Linked DNA regions of Homo sapiens: regions 2 and 3 are each linked to region 1. The links are contacts of gene promoters, found by promoter capture Hi-C in blood cells and fetal thymus (Javierre and others, 2016). All regions are on one chromosome and are shown on one strand. Each heading gives the region's core, a stretch centred on a gene start or on the middle of the fragment in contact. The rest is flanking DNA. Distances are from core to core; before and after follow the strand shown. Region 1 holds the start of WASHC5-AS1 (WASHC5 antisense RNA 1). Region 2 overlaps FAM91A1 (family with sequence similarity 91 member A1). Region 3 overlaps FAM91A1 (family with sequence similarity 91 member A1).

Evidence for each region. The method cuts DNA at HindIII sites, captures the fragments that hold promoters and counts their contacts. A CHiCAGO score of 5 or more calls a contact.
Region 2: a fragment that was not itself captured here is called in contact with the fragment with the promoter of WASHC5-AS1 in region 1 in 2 of 17 cell types (M2 macrophages and monocytes); the score reaches 8.4 in M2 macrophages.
Region 3: a fragment that was not itself captured here is called in contact with the fragment with the promoter of WASHC5-AS1 in region 1 in 3 of 17 cell types (M2 macrophages, neutrophils and monocytes); the score reaches 8.5 in M2 macrophages.

What each region holds. Positions count from the first base shown.
Region 1 is chr8:125,038,925-125,043,886 of GRCh38, forward strand. WASHC5-AS1 (WASHC5 antisense RNA 1) reads left to right here and starts at 1,760. Exons shown (of 2, transcript NR_170219.1): 1 at 1,760-1,855. It overlaps WASHC5 (WASH complex subunit 5), which reads right to left. Exons shown (of 29, transcript NM_014846.4): 23 at 4,901-4,962; 24 at 871-974; 25 at 1-35. The HindIII fragment of the contact is 6,314 bases long and covers 1-3,191 here.
Region 2 is chr8:123,800,307-123,804,849 of GRCh38, forward strand. The region is part of intron 18 of FAM91A1 (family with sequence similarity 91 member A1); the gene reads left to right. Among named protein-coding and RNA genes, the nearest start is that of FAM91A1, 34 kb to the left of the region's middle. The HindIII fragment of the contact is 4,877 bases long and covers 1-3,725 here.
Region 3 is chr8:123,781,809-123,786,207 of GRCh38, forward strand. It overlaps FAM91A1 (family with sequence similarity 91 member A1), which reads left to right. Exons shown (of 24, transcript NM_144963.4): 9 at 2,662-2,768; 10 at 3,273-3,311; 11 at 3,821-3,933. Among named protein-coding and RNA genes, the nearest start is that of FAM91A1, 16 kb to the left of the region's middle. The HindIII fragment of the contact is 4,765 bases long and covers 1-4,399 here.

The DNA.
Region 1 (4,962 bases), core at 510-3,009:
CCTGATAGTGGGCTTCAATGTCTGCTAGGAGAGCCCTAAAGGAAGAAAAACCCTGGAGATAAACATTAGTGAGTAAATGAATTTATACAAGAGTTAATATAGGGCAGTGATGTAATCTTTTCAAGCCTCAGTTTCCTCATCTGTAAAATGAGAGCTTGATCTCGCTAATTCTCAACCATGCCTGTGATTGGTTTTAAGTGGAAAATTTGACCTAGAATTACTTCATCTTTTGGAATCAACCTCAATCAAATGCATTCACCATTCAAATTTTCATGTATTGACTGAACTGTTCTTAATACCTGCTTTGTCAAAAGCACTGACTTGGTGAGTGAGAAGCACAGATTATTTATCTGTAAGTAGGCAGCCTCAAATGACAGCAGGTTGCTGGTGAGGCGGAGGATATGAGTTCCCTCTAGGACAGGCCTCCATAACCACTCTTGGTAATCAACACACTTCCAACTGCCCTCTGGATGATGAGTGATCAGCCCTGTAAAAAGCCAGTTGCGGATTTTGGTAATAATTGCTTTCTAAAATCTGTGCAAGTATCTAGCAGTGTCTGGTGTGTCTCTCACTCGCTCTCTCTAATGAATTCATTTGTTCAGCAGACATGTATTGAATCATGTGATCAGTACCTGTCTGCTGAATACACGAATCCATTAGAGAGAGTGAGTGAGAGACAGAGATAAACGGAGGGACAATACTGAGGAAAGAGGCTCCGAAGACAGATTTGATTATCCGTGGCAAGGAAGCCTGTAAATTCAGACCTTCCACCCAAAAATAACTTAAAAGAGTAAGAACTGAAGAAACTGGGGTGCGTAGATAATAAACAATCCAAGCCCACGGATGGCTGTTTCAAACCCTGGCACTTACTTATTGAGATTCTCCAGAGCAGCTGCCAGATGTTTAGAATCAAACCGACAAGAATAATTTAATTCATTGGCAATCTGTTGTCTCAGAATCTGCATCTGCCCAACCTGTGCACAAGCAAGAGAAAGAACAGGTAGTGCATTCAAGCATTTCAGAGTGACAGTGAGGAGGTAAACACAAAGATGACAATTCTTCACTGGGCCTTCACATCACTCTACAGGAAAAAAAATAAGGATTTCCTGAACTGATCTCTTGGCTAAGACCAGCACTGGATCTAATGAAGCACCAGAGGCCCTTCAAGGAATGTCTGGATGGATTCCCATACCCCAACCTAAAAATACCCCAAAGTCTATGATTCACAAAGTGATCTATTAATGTTCAGTTGTTCATGTATCAAAGATGTCTTTTTTGAAGCTATATTTTTAACCTTTTGGAATAAGTGCTCCAAATTTAGTAGCTGCTGTGAGAAGTCTTACTTACTTCCTTTTATTTATCCTAAATGGAACTTTCTCAAGCTCTAGGAATGCCATTTCACACTAGTATTCTCAAATTGGGTGAATATTAAGTCTGTCCATGCCACTCAGGATTATAGGTTCTATAATTATCTGGATTACAAAATAATCTACATAAAATCTTTCACGAAAATTTTAACAATGATAGCCCCTTAATCCAGGGTTCTTAATTTTTTTTGTGTGTCTGATATGGTTTGGCTGTGCCCCCACCCAAATTTCATCTTGAATTGTAGTTCCCATAATCCCCATGTGTCATGGGAGGGACCCAGTGGGAGGTAATTGAATTATGGGGGTGGTTACCTCCATACTGTTCTCGTAATAGTGGATGAGTTCTCACGAGATCTGATGGTTTTATAAGAGGCTTTTCTCCTTTTGATTATATTTCTCTTTCCTGTTGCCATGTGAAGAAGGACATGTTTGCTTCCACTTCCACCATGGTTGTAAGTTTCCTGAGGCCTCCACAGCCATGCTGAACTGTGAGTCAATCGAACCTCTTTCCTTTATAAATTACCCAGTCTTGAGTATGTCTTTATTATGTGAGAATTGACTAATATAGCCTTGGACCCCTTTGGGAATCTGGTGAAGCCTATGGACACCATTTCAGAATAACGTTTTTGAATGTACAAAATAAAACATAGAGGGTAACAGTGGAAGCCAGTTGTAATGAAATATAATTAACCATTCAAAGAACAAATCTGTGATATAGAGTTATGCTAGGATGGTGTATTAACTACAGTACTTTAAAAGTAGCTATGAGCATAAATGATACTTGGAGATTATCTGCAATGGTTGGATGATAGGAAGCGATCTTTGGGTCAGGCTTGAGAGTTCAGTTTGCCCTCATAATGTTGTCTGCATCATAAGGTCAACAGCACACTCTAACTTTTTCTGCCTATAAATGTCTTCTTTTCTACTCGGACAAAGTATTCCTAAAAGACTGGCAAAGGGGAGTGAGGGAGGTGGGGAGAGGAGGGAAGACAGTATTATAATGCAAGCAGCAATAAGGTGGAAATAAATGCATTTCCTCTGAGTTGCTGGGGGCAGAGAAGAGTTAAGGAAAAGACAGGGGCTCACGCCTGCAATCCCAGCACTTTGGGAGGCCGAGGCAGGCTGATCGCTTGAGGCTAGGAGTTCGAGACCAAGCCTGGCCAAAATGGTAAAACTCTGTTTCTACTAAAAATAAAAAAATTAGCTGGGTATGGTGGTGGACACCTGTAATCCCAGATACTTGGAAGGCTGAGGTATGAGAAACACTTGAACCCAGGAGGTAGAGGTTGCAGTGAGCCAAGATTGTGCCACTGCACTCCAGCCCAGGCGACAGAGTGAGACTGTCTCAAAAAAAAAAGAAAAGGAGGGTGGCCTTCTCTAAGAATGAGCAAAAGTTACTTAGCTAAATGGAGCTTGTAATGGTCAAAAGTATTAAATGACCTCAGATGTATTATTTTTGACCACTATTCATACAAGACTATTACTCTATTTATGTGAAAAACGTCAATCCAAAAATGCTATTTATAAATAGGAAGTGTTTGAATTTATAGAGTAGCATTATTTAAAAATTAGAATGCAGCAAATCCAAGAAAATAGTAGGTTCTTTCAGGCCACATAAAAATGTCCCTGAAACCCTGTATCTGGCCCATATAATTCTTTGCTTAATTTTCTATGTGTAGTATACTCTGTGTCAAGGATCCTCTTGAAAATATCAATCTAGAACTGGAAATAGAAATAAAGTCAGTTTAATATAACTTGCTCTCGTTTACTGCACAATGAATCTTTGTTAGTGACATTTTCTATTTTTGGTACTCACGCACTTCAAGCTTTAATAAGCTGCTGAAGAGGCTAAGGAGCCTGGGATGGATGAGAAACTTATTCTACCTACTCATTTGCCTCTTTGGAGATATCTGGCTTATCACTCTTTCTCCAAGATTTTTCTAGAGTTGCACTATTGAGTACAGCAGCTCCTAGCGATGTGTGGCTATTTATATTTAAATTAATATGAAATAAAATTAAAAATTGCATTTCACTGTCCCACAACCCACATTTCATGAGCTCAATAGCTACACAGGGCTAGGAGCTGCTGTCATCATCGAATAGCACAGAACATTTCCATTGTTGTTCCAGATTATTAACACTGGCTCCGTGACTGTACGCACCCTAATTCAAGACAAAAAGACAAATTTGTCCTTTGGGGCTTTATTTAAAGATCACTGACTCGGTCACAGTCACGTGGCTGTTACTGAATTACTGGCAACTATAACCAATAGTTGGAATAGCTACTGGACTGAGAACCCTCCAGTAAGCAAGGGGAAAACCTTCCAGTTTCTTGGAAGAATCCCTGTAATCCCCCTAACGCCTCCTACAGAGTTGGGACTCACACCTGTCCAAACTCGGGTGATTCTTTATTCCTCCTAAAGGGTTTTCCAGCAATTAGAAACTTGGCCTGGGAAGCGCTTAATATCTGACAATCATGAGGCTAGGGGAAGGCAGACCCACATCACGAGAGGATATCTAGCAGAGCCATGGGCTCCTTGCCTTACCTGTTCTGTTTAATGATCCAAACAACAACAACAACAACAACCACTCACCAAAATTATGGGAAATATATTGTGAATTTGGCTAAGATACCAATGAGTGCTGTCTCAATGAGAAACTTATATAATTGGGAATCAGAGAATGGAACTTTTCAAAATTCCCTTAGCATTCTAGAATTCTAGACTTTTCTACAGTATGTGATATTTTTGACCACAAACCAGTTTTCTACCAGGAAGTCTACTCTTCCCTGCTAGATTGTGAGTTAGCTAAGGAGACCGGTCATGTTTCATTTAACTCTGTCTTTCACAGCAACTGACAATGCCCTGGGTATAATGGGTGTGCAAGAATGGGCTGTGATGATCTCAGATTATCAGATGATGAAAGAAGACTCGCAGAAGATGCAGGGGTCCCTGGGAGCTCCTACTGCCGAGTAAAGGCAGGAAACTAGGCAGCTGGATTCTAAAATAAGTTAGACTTCCATCCAGCAAATTAATCTCTTCGTCTTTCTTATTCATTTCCAAAGTAAGACTGCTTTCTGCAGAGTATAAGGATAATTTATGCCCCAAAGAACCTGGCTTCCTAACATCTATGCAGACACAAGAGGGCAGAGAGACAATGTTCTGTTCTAACAGCAGCTTGGAGCAGATGAGGTGTGTATAAATGAACTTTGTTATGTAAAAAGGGAGTATTACTGTGCAAGGAAAAGTTCAATTTTCATATATAAAAGCACCTCTAGCCAAAAGGCATTTTACAAAGAGCCAGTTTTCTTGAACAAAAGGAAAACGCTAGGCTCCTAAAAAGCCTAATCAAGAACAGATCCAGAAACGGAGATAAACAAAATGAATTTTAAAATGATAAACTGAAGTATTAAAATATTTTTGATTTAATGACAAAAGAAAGAAGAGTAGCTTTTTTTGGGCAACAAAGTTACAAGAAAATAAAAAATTTAAAAATGTAAGTATTGACTGTACACCCTCTCTTCTACAACATACCTTCATTATAGCCTCGAGATACGCAGTCCAAATCTTCTGTGTTTTGGCAATGGCGGAAAAAT
Region 2 (4,543 bases), core at 37-2,536, 1.2 Mb before region 1:
AAATTAGACATCTCTTACTAGAGATTAACAACAATTACTAATAAGAAAATAGCATACTGTAATATAAGTTATATGAATGTGGTCTCTCTCAAAATACCTCGTTATACTATACTCACCTATTTTCAGACCTTGGTTGACCACAGATGATAACTAAAACCATGGAAAGCAAAACCTCACATAAAAGGGGACTATTGTATTGAGTATATAATTCACATACTGTACAATTCACCAATTTAAATTGTGCAGTTAAGTGGGTTTTAGTGTGTTCACAGATATGTACAGCCATCACCACACTCAATTTTAGAACATTTCATTACCTTAAAAAGAAACCTTGTATCCTTTAGTGATCACTCTTCTATTTTCTCCCCGCTACTCATCTCCTTCCCTCTAGTCTTAAGCAACACTAATCTACTTGTTGTCTCTATAGATTTGCCGAATCTGGGCATTTATGTGAATGGAATCATATATAATATGTGGTCTTTTGTGACTGGCTTCCTTCATTTAACATAATGTTTTCAAGGTTCATCATGTTGTCATAGTATCAATACTTCATTCCTTTTTGAGGCCAAATAATGTTCCATTTTATGGATATGCCACATTTTGTTTATTCCTCCATCAGTTGATGGACATGTGGGTTGTTTTCACCTTTTGGCCATTATGAAGAATGCTGTCATAAACATTTGTGTACAAGTTTTTCTGTGGACATATGTTTTTATTTCTCTTGGCTATATATGTATAGGGATGGAATTACTGGGTCATATGGTAATTCCATGTTTAAGCATTTAAGGAACTGCCAGACTGTCTTGCAAAGTGGCTGCATCATTTTACATTCTCACGGGCACTTGATATTATGTGGCTTTTTGATGATAACCACCTTAGGAGGTGTGGAATGGTATCTCATTATAGTTTTGATTTACATTTTCCCGAAGACTAATAATGTTGAGCTTCTTTGCATGTGCTTATTGGGCTGTGTGACATTTTCATGATAAACCTTATACTTTATTTCCCACCTATAAAATGGAGATGGCAATATCTATTGTATAATAACAAACACTTATAATAATGGCAACTAGTGGTAAGGTAAGCAGTTTATGCTCATAGAATTGAGAGAATGAAATGAAAATGTACGTGTCAAATGTGTAGCACACTTGCTGGCACATAATAGGTTCTCCGTAAAGATTTCGTCAGTTCATCTAACAATTGAATGTGCATATTTTGCGCTAATTAATATCAATATGCAAATAAGACAGGGCCCCTCATCTTCAAGGAATTTAAGGATGGTGGGAAAAGCTGCATAAGCACTCAGTTTCAGTTTATCGAATAGAATTACATATAGTGGAAGACTTAAAAAGAACTATCCAGTCCAGCCTTGGGGCAAGGAGAAGGGCTTAGGGGAGGTTCCTTAGAGAAAGTGAGACCCAGGCTGAATACAAAAGGATGACTTAAAAGAAGCGAGGTAGTAGGGGTCAGCATGATTAAATCTCTGGGCAAGGATTTTTTTTTTTTTCTTTTTTCTTTGCTGCTATTTTTCTAGTGCCCAGCACGGTGCTTGGGTCATAGTAGTTGTCCAGTTAGTGTTTGTGGAATAAATAAATAAGAATATGAAGTGACATAACATGCCAGGGTCAATAAGCTGTTCAGTGTTTTTGAGGGGTGAGTTGGAGTGTGAGGGGGTTGTGGTCAGAGACAAGTCTGGAGAAGTAGGCTGGCCCTGCAGTGCCGCCTGCCTTGAGTGTCCTGCCGTGGAACTGAGAAGTTGACCTGTAGATTGATGGTAGCAATTACAGGGGGGTAACAGGGATTAACATGGTCAAATTTGTTTCAGGAATCAACCTTGGGATGATATTGAGAATGGGAGGGAGTGGGGAGACACCTGAAGCAAGAAGACCAGTTAGGACTGTGTGTAGTAGTTTAGATAAGAGATAAAGATAGCCCGGATCAAGGACATGGTAATAAGAATTGAAAGGAAAAATGGATTTAAGAACTACTACAAATATACAATTAATAGAATTGATCAGATATCTGAGAGAGATGGGAAGAGGGAAGAAAGATTCTGGGGTATTTGACTTGTGAAGGTAGAAGGGTGGTGATACCACTACTGTAGGGAACATAGGAGGAAGTGACATCACAGGAGGTGGTGATATCACTACTCTAGGGAACACGGGAGGAAGTGATATCATGGGAGGTGGTGATACCACTACTCTGGGGAACACGGGAGGAAGAGCACATTTATGGGGCAGATGATGTGTTGTGTTTATATGGTGCCTGTGGTAATTGGAAATATTCTGAAATTCAAATGAGAGGTTAGACAAGAGTGATTAAGTGTCAGCATCAGGTGGTAGATGGTAGTTGAAACCATGAGAGGATGAAATTAGCCAGGGAAGATATATAGTATGGGGTGGTCGTGGGAGATAGCATCATAGAATGGGCTAGACATGGACTTAAGTCAGACTGCCTAAACTCAGATCTTGGTTCCATCATTTACTAGTAATCTTAGACAAGTTAAATACCTTTTTGAACTTTAGTGTCTTTACCTATAAACTGGAGATAAAGTTCCCATCTTTTTAAAGTTTTTGAAAAGAATGACTTGAGCACTGTGTTTAGCACATAGGAAGATCTCAGAAAACGTTATTGTGTTGGTAGTGGCAGTAGAAGTAGAGTGAAGGAACAGTGGGTGATTCCACGAGCTTCAGTTTTCCTTACCTTTAAAATGAAGGGTGGCTGGGTGCAGTGGCTCACGCCTGTAATTCCAGCACTTTGGAAGGCTGAGGTGAATTGCTTGAGCCCAGAAGTTGGAGACCAACTTGGATAACATAGTGAAACCCTGTCTTAATTTATAGTAACAAATCTTTCTTGAATAAAGTAAAATGAGAGAGGTGGTTTCCAAGGTCTTTTCTGTAGGTGGTACTCTGTAGATCAAGCTAAGTTAGGTTTTTTTTTTTTTTGGATGGGGGCTAGTGCAAAATATGGATAGAAAAACAAATCAGCAGACAGTACCTGTTTTTATTTATTTATTGTTTTGAGACACGGTCTCACTCTGTCACCCAGGCTGAAGTCCGTGGCATGATCACAGCTCACTGCAGCCTCGACTTCCCCTGGGCACAAGAGATCCTCCTGCCTTAGCCTCCAGAGTAGCTGGGACTACAAGCTCACGCCACCATGCCTGGCTAATTTTTTATAGAGACAGGGTTTCACCATGTTGCCCAGGCTGGTCTCAAACTCCTGGGCTCAAGTGATCTGCCCGCCTTGACCTCCAAAAGTGCTGGGATTACAGGTGTGAGCCACCACACCAGGCTGACAGTACTGTTTTTAAAGTGTTTGTTAAGGAGTTTTGCTTTTGCTAAAGAAAAATGCCTTTTTAATTAAATTTGATGGAAATAAATTTACCTTATTGGAATTTAAACGTGTTACAAATTAAGATTTTTGGTTAAAACCATAATTTATTTTAGCCATCAGGTTTAGGAAATAAAAGAGAGCTCTCAGAAATATATTTAAATAGTTATATGAAACAACAAAAAGAGTATGCTTTCCTTTGGATATATCAGGGTTTCTTGAATTTGAATAATGTATGGGTCTCTCTTAAAGGGAAGAATTTGGAGATCCTCAGTATTAAATTTCTATTGTAACAGTTCTAAATACATGTAGACATAATGTTAAGTTCTTCATGCTTCTTGTTATTACACAACTACAAATTCAAATCAAATTTTGGAATTAAATATAAGCAAAGCTTTAAAACAAAACTCAAATGAACAATATTAATTGAATGTGATAGATGAAACTGAATTATCATTTGTAACATGAGAGTGAAGTGGGTAGACTCAGATTTTTTAAATTTAATTTTTGAACTAATAGTACATTCACATGATTCAAAAATAAAACGTTATTAAAAGGTGTAGAGCCTGGGCGCGGTGGCTCACACCTGTAATCCCAGTACTTTGGGAGGCTGAGGCAGGTGGATCACCTGAGGTCAGGAGTTCAAGATGAGCCTGGCCAACATGGAGAAATCCAGTCTCTACTAAAAATACAAAAAAATAGTTAGCCGGGTGTGGTGGCGGGCGCCTGTAATCTCAGCTACTCAGGAGGCTGAGGCAGGAGAATTGCTTGAACCTGGGAGGTGGAGATTGCAGTGAGCCAAAATTGTGTCATTGCACTCCAGTCTGAGTAACAGAGCAAGACTCTGTTTTAAAAAAAAAAAAAAAAAAAAAAAAAAAAAAAGAGGTATAGGTCGAAAAGTATCACTCCCCTGCTAACCCTATCAAGTTTCCACTCCCCATCTCTCCTCCAAATCAGATAATTTCATCTGTTCATTTCTCCTATATCCTTCCAGAGTGTCTTTATGCATATGCAAGTACCTGCACACAGATGTGCCCCTTACCTTTTCCATTTAGCAATTGGAGATCTTTCCATTGCAGGTCATAGCTTTCTTTCATTTATGAACCTCCATTGAAGATATGTCTCCTAATTTAGTTAACCAGTCCCCTGTTGGTGGACATTTTGGTTGTTTCCAATTATATGTAATTATTTATCGTAGCAAGTAATTCTG
Region 3 (4,399 bases), core at 1,123-3,622, 1.3 Mb before region 1:
GATACCTTAAAAAGTACAGGAAATACTAATTTGCGTTTGTATAGTTGATGCCGTAACAAAATACTAGTTTTAAAATGAGAAAGATTTGACAAGGAAATGATTTCTGAAGACAGAGGTGGCCGTGATTTCCTGTCACAGTTGGAAAATATGAAAGTATTACTCTAGTGCCTACTGTCATCAGATAAGCTGACGTTGATTCATTTGAGATCCACCTATTAATAAAAAGATTAGTCTTTGACTAGTTCATTTCAGTCCAGTTTGACTGTCAGTTTGAACATTGACTCACATTAGAGTAACTTTTAATATTACTTATGGCTAAACTAAATTCATTTGAAAAAAGCAGTCAGAGAAGGGCCAGATGGATGGCTGCCCCATTACATTGATGTGTTCTACCATACTTCACTTAGTAGCTGCTGGTATTTGGTGGTACAGACAGACCCATGGGATGATAATTGCTAAACTTACCCTTGTCACCATGTTACCTCTTTGGCTGTTCCCCAAATTAGAATAAACACATAAAAACAGTTTTGACAACATGGAAGGCATCAAATTCAGTACAAATAATACCTGAATGTGATTTCAAAAGAGGCATTTCAGATACGTTTCAACAACAAAACAAACAAGCACTATGGTTGGTGATATAAATATAAATGGAGATCAGAAATACTTTTAAGGGAGTAATCATGAAAGGCTCTATTATTAAATAAATTTATTCCATTATTCATCAAATTTTCTAACTGTATTTTGTGTGTCTTTTATAGCTTCCTGATTTCTGTTATGCTTGAATGGAATACCTGTAGGATATAGAAATAGTCTGAAAATTCTTGAGAACTTTTGTCGTATATATTTAAATTTGCAGTTTGTTTGGAACTTATTTTCATATTTGATGTGGAATAAGGGTTCAACTTATTTTTCTTCTCTTTGGATAACCAATAGCATTTGGACAAATGCTAGCACTGTTTCAAATTTCTTCATGTAGAGTCACCTTACTCTTTTTGCTTAGATACAAATTTTGGCCTAGGAAAATTTCTAATCTCATAGTGCCTTGGTTTCTTTATCTCTCAAAATAGGGGGTAACTGGCCAAGCACAGTGGCTCACACCTGTAATCCCAGTACTTTGGGAAGCCAAGGTATGAGAATTGCTTGAGCCCTGGAGTTCGAGACCAGCCTGGGCAATATAAAGGGACCCCTTCTCTACAAAAATAAAAATGAAAAGAATTAGTCATGCGTGTTGGCATGTGGCTGTAGTCCCAGCTACTTGGGGGACTGGGGCAAGAGGATTGCTTGAGCCTGGGAGGTCGAAGCTGCAGTAAGCCACAATCCCCACCCTGCATTCCAGCCTAGGTGACAGAGTGAGACCCTGTCTCAATAAATAAATAAATAAATAGATACATTTAAAAATAGGGGTAATTATACTACTGTACAACCCACGGAGTTAGGAGGATTAAATGAAAATGTATATATAAAGTACTTGGTAATAGCCTAGCACTTAGTAAGCATTCAATAAATGCTATTATTATTTACATAGCTGATAGTGTAGGGAAATAATTAATGTTGTCAAAGACGGGATTTCTAAAATATTTCTAAAAAGAAACCATTGATCATTAAAAGTACCTAGATGACTAGAAATATAGGTAGTACTAAATTAGAAAATGACATGAGCCAGATCTGTAAAGTGAATAACCTATCCTCAGATGTATGTACATTGTAGTTTTTCAGTGTCTCAGTTTTGACCATTTGAATTTTGTCTTATTTTTCACTATTAGGAATAATTTAAATTTTTGGGTACAATTAGATGATATTAGGGCCAGGGGACATAAAGATACCCAAATGCTACTATGGCCTAGGCATTCCTCCTTCTCAGGATATTTTCAGGGTGAATGTACCCACAGGGGAGAATGGCAAAGGAAAGCATAGAGCTTGTTTTTTATTGGCTGGGCAGAGCACTTTGGTAAATCAGATTAGAACATTTGGACCAAAGAGATAGAAGTGAGTATGAATGAACATTCAGGTGGAGAGTGATGGTTGGGCTGCCCACTGTGCTAAAGGGGATCTTGACCCTGTTGCCACTGAGGCCCACTGGGGAGGATACCAGAAAAGAAAGCCCCAAAGAACGAGTTAGCCCAGTGACTTCTGGTAAACATGATGGTCATGCAGATGAATTTCCATTTTTAGGATGGAGTAGGGATGATGGGGAGACAGAGCCAATACTTTGCATCCACCTGGTTTTCGTATAGCGTAGCAACTCTTTCTTGCAGTCATTTGCTTTTCAGCTTTGGCCCACTCACCCCTGCTGCCTATGAGGCATCAAAAACACATGTATCAGAAACCCTTTGCAGGCTCCCCCATTCTGAAGCAGCCCCTGTTCCCTCACCCTTCTACCAAGTCCATGTCATCCAGCATTTCTGAGTTACCTGTCTCAGTAACTCTGAGTTCCATGGTGAATTAAATGAACTCTGTGGATTTCGTGTCTACCTTCAGAGTCTTCTCTGTGTACGTATTGTAGAGTTTCAGAAAACTTGCTATGGAGTGGATAAATAAATCAAAAGCTGCATTCAGTCCCTAAGTTAGAGGTTTCTTTTTTTAATTAGATATGTAAATTATACTTTCTTGTTTTATAAAATCTGTACCACTGAGAAAAATCTCTTCTGTTTGTTTTAGTTCCACCTCTTGAAGGTTTTGTAATGAATCGAGTGCAAGGTGATTATTTTGAAACTCTACTCTATAAGATATTTGTTTCAATAGATGAGCACACAAATGTTGCAGAGGTAAGTTTGACAACGTCTCATGAAAATATAATCTCAAGATTGTAAGTTTGTGTAAAGTAAGTAAAGTTATTTAATATGGTAGTATCTTTTTAAAATCTCCATGTGGGGAGATCATACCATTATTACACTTAAATGTCATTATTCTTAACGTTCTTATAAATGTATATTAAAATTTAAGTTAATAATTTATAGTTTGGTTAACTTTTTATATGACTTTTTGTACTAAAGTATTGTAGACTATATTGATCTATCCAGGAATTTTATTTTAAATGAGACGAAATTAAAGAGTAAGGAATCTTAAATTGTTATGGTCACTCCATGGATTTGTACTATAAGGATCTTAGAGATAGGGAAAGAAGAAAGTTCTGAATTCAAAATTTATTCAGTCTTCTAATTATTCATAACTTAAAATTTTGCTGATTATGATTATATTGGTCTATTACAACTGTGTAATGTGCTGTTAATTCTAAGAATGTAAAAATAAATTTTAATTTTATCTTCTAGCTTGCAAATGTCCTTGAGATTGACTTATCCCTGGTTAAGGTATGTTATTTTTATACTCATTTACTGGTGATGTGATAACTGAGTGGATTTTACTAGTAGATTTTTATCTTGATAAGCTACTGAGAAACGAAGACATTGAGATTGTTGTTAGCTGTCTGAGAGAACGTGCACAGTAAAGGGGCACTTGCAAAGACAGGAAAGAGCAGGAAAAGGGGCCCTAAATTGGGATTCAAACACATGGACTGAAAAGAGAGCACTCATGCAAGAAGCAGCCCAAGCAGTATCTTGTAGTGAGGTCCGTTAAAGCAACAACTCCTGCTTCATTAGGGGTAGATGTAGGGAGGGCAAGGCCAGAGAGTTGGAAACATTCCCTCCTATACATTTATGAAGACTTCAAGGGAGGAGCAGGTCTACTGAAAATAGTTTCTGGTTACGGGATGAAAATGTTTGAGAATCACTATTAGTCTATTACACTATTTTTTCTCTACAAATATTGTGATGTCTAGTTTATTTTAAATGGTAATTAGTTTCCTTTATATTCCTTTCAGAATGCTGTTTCAATGTATTGCCGATTGGGCTTTGCCCATAAGAAGGGACAAGTAATTAATTTGGATCAACTTCATTCATCATGGAAGAATGTTCCATCCGTAAACAGATTAAAGTAACTTAAATTTATTCAGTATGAGCTATTAGAGTTTCCTTTTGAAAAGACATTTAATTTTACATACATAAATTTATTTATTTATTTATTTATTGAGACAAAGTCTCTCTCTGTCATCCAGGCTGGAGTGCGGTGGCGCGATCTCGGCTCACTGCAACCTCCACCTCCCCGTTTCAAGCGATTTTCATGCCTCAGCCTCCTGAGTAGTGGGGACTATAGGTGTGCACCACCATGCCCAGCTAATTTTTTGTGTTTCTGTTAGAGGTGGGGTTTCACCATGTTAGCCAGGCTGGTGTCGAACTCCTGGCCCCAACTGATCCACCCACCTTGGCCTTCCAAAGTGTTGGGATTGCAGGTGTGAGCCACTGCACCTGGCCCAGAAATTTTATTTATTCAACCTGTCAGTTGAGGTGAGCCCTTTATATTAGTGATTTTTAATCTTGTGTGTGTGTTACAGATCTTTTTT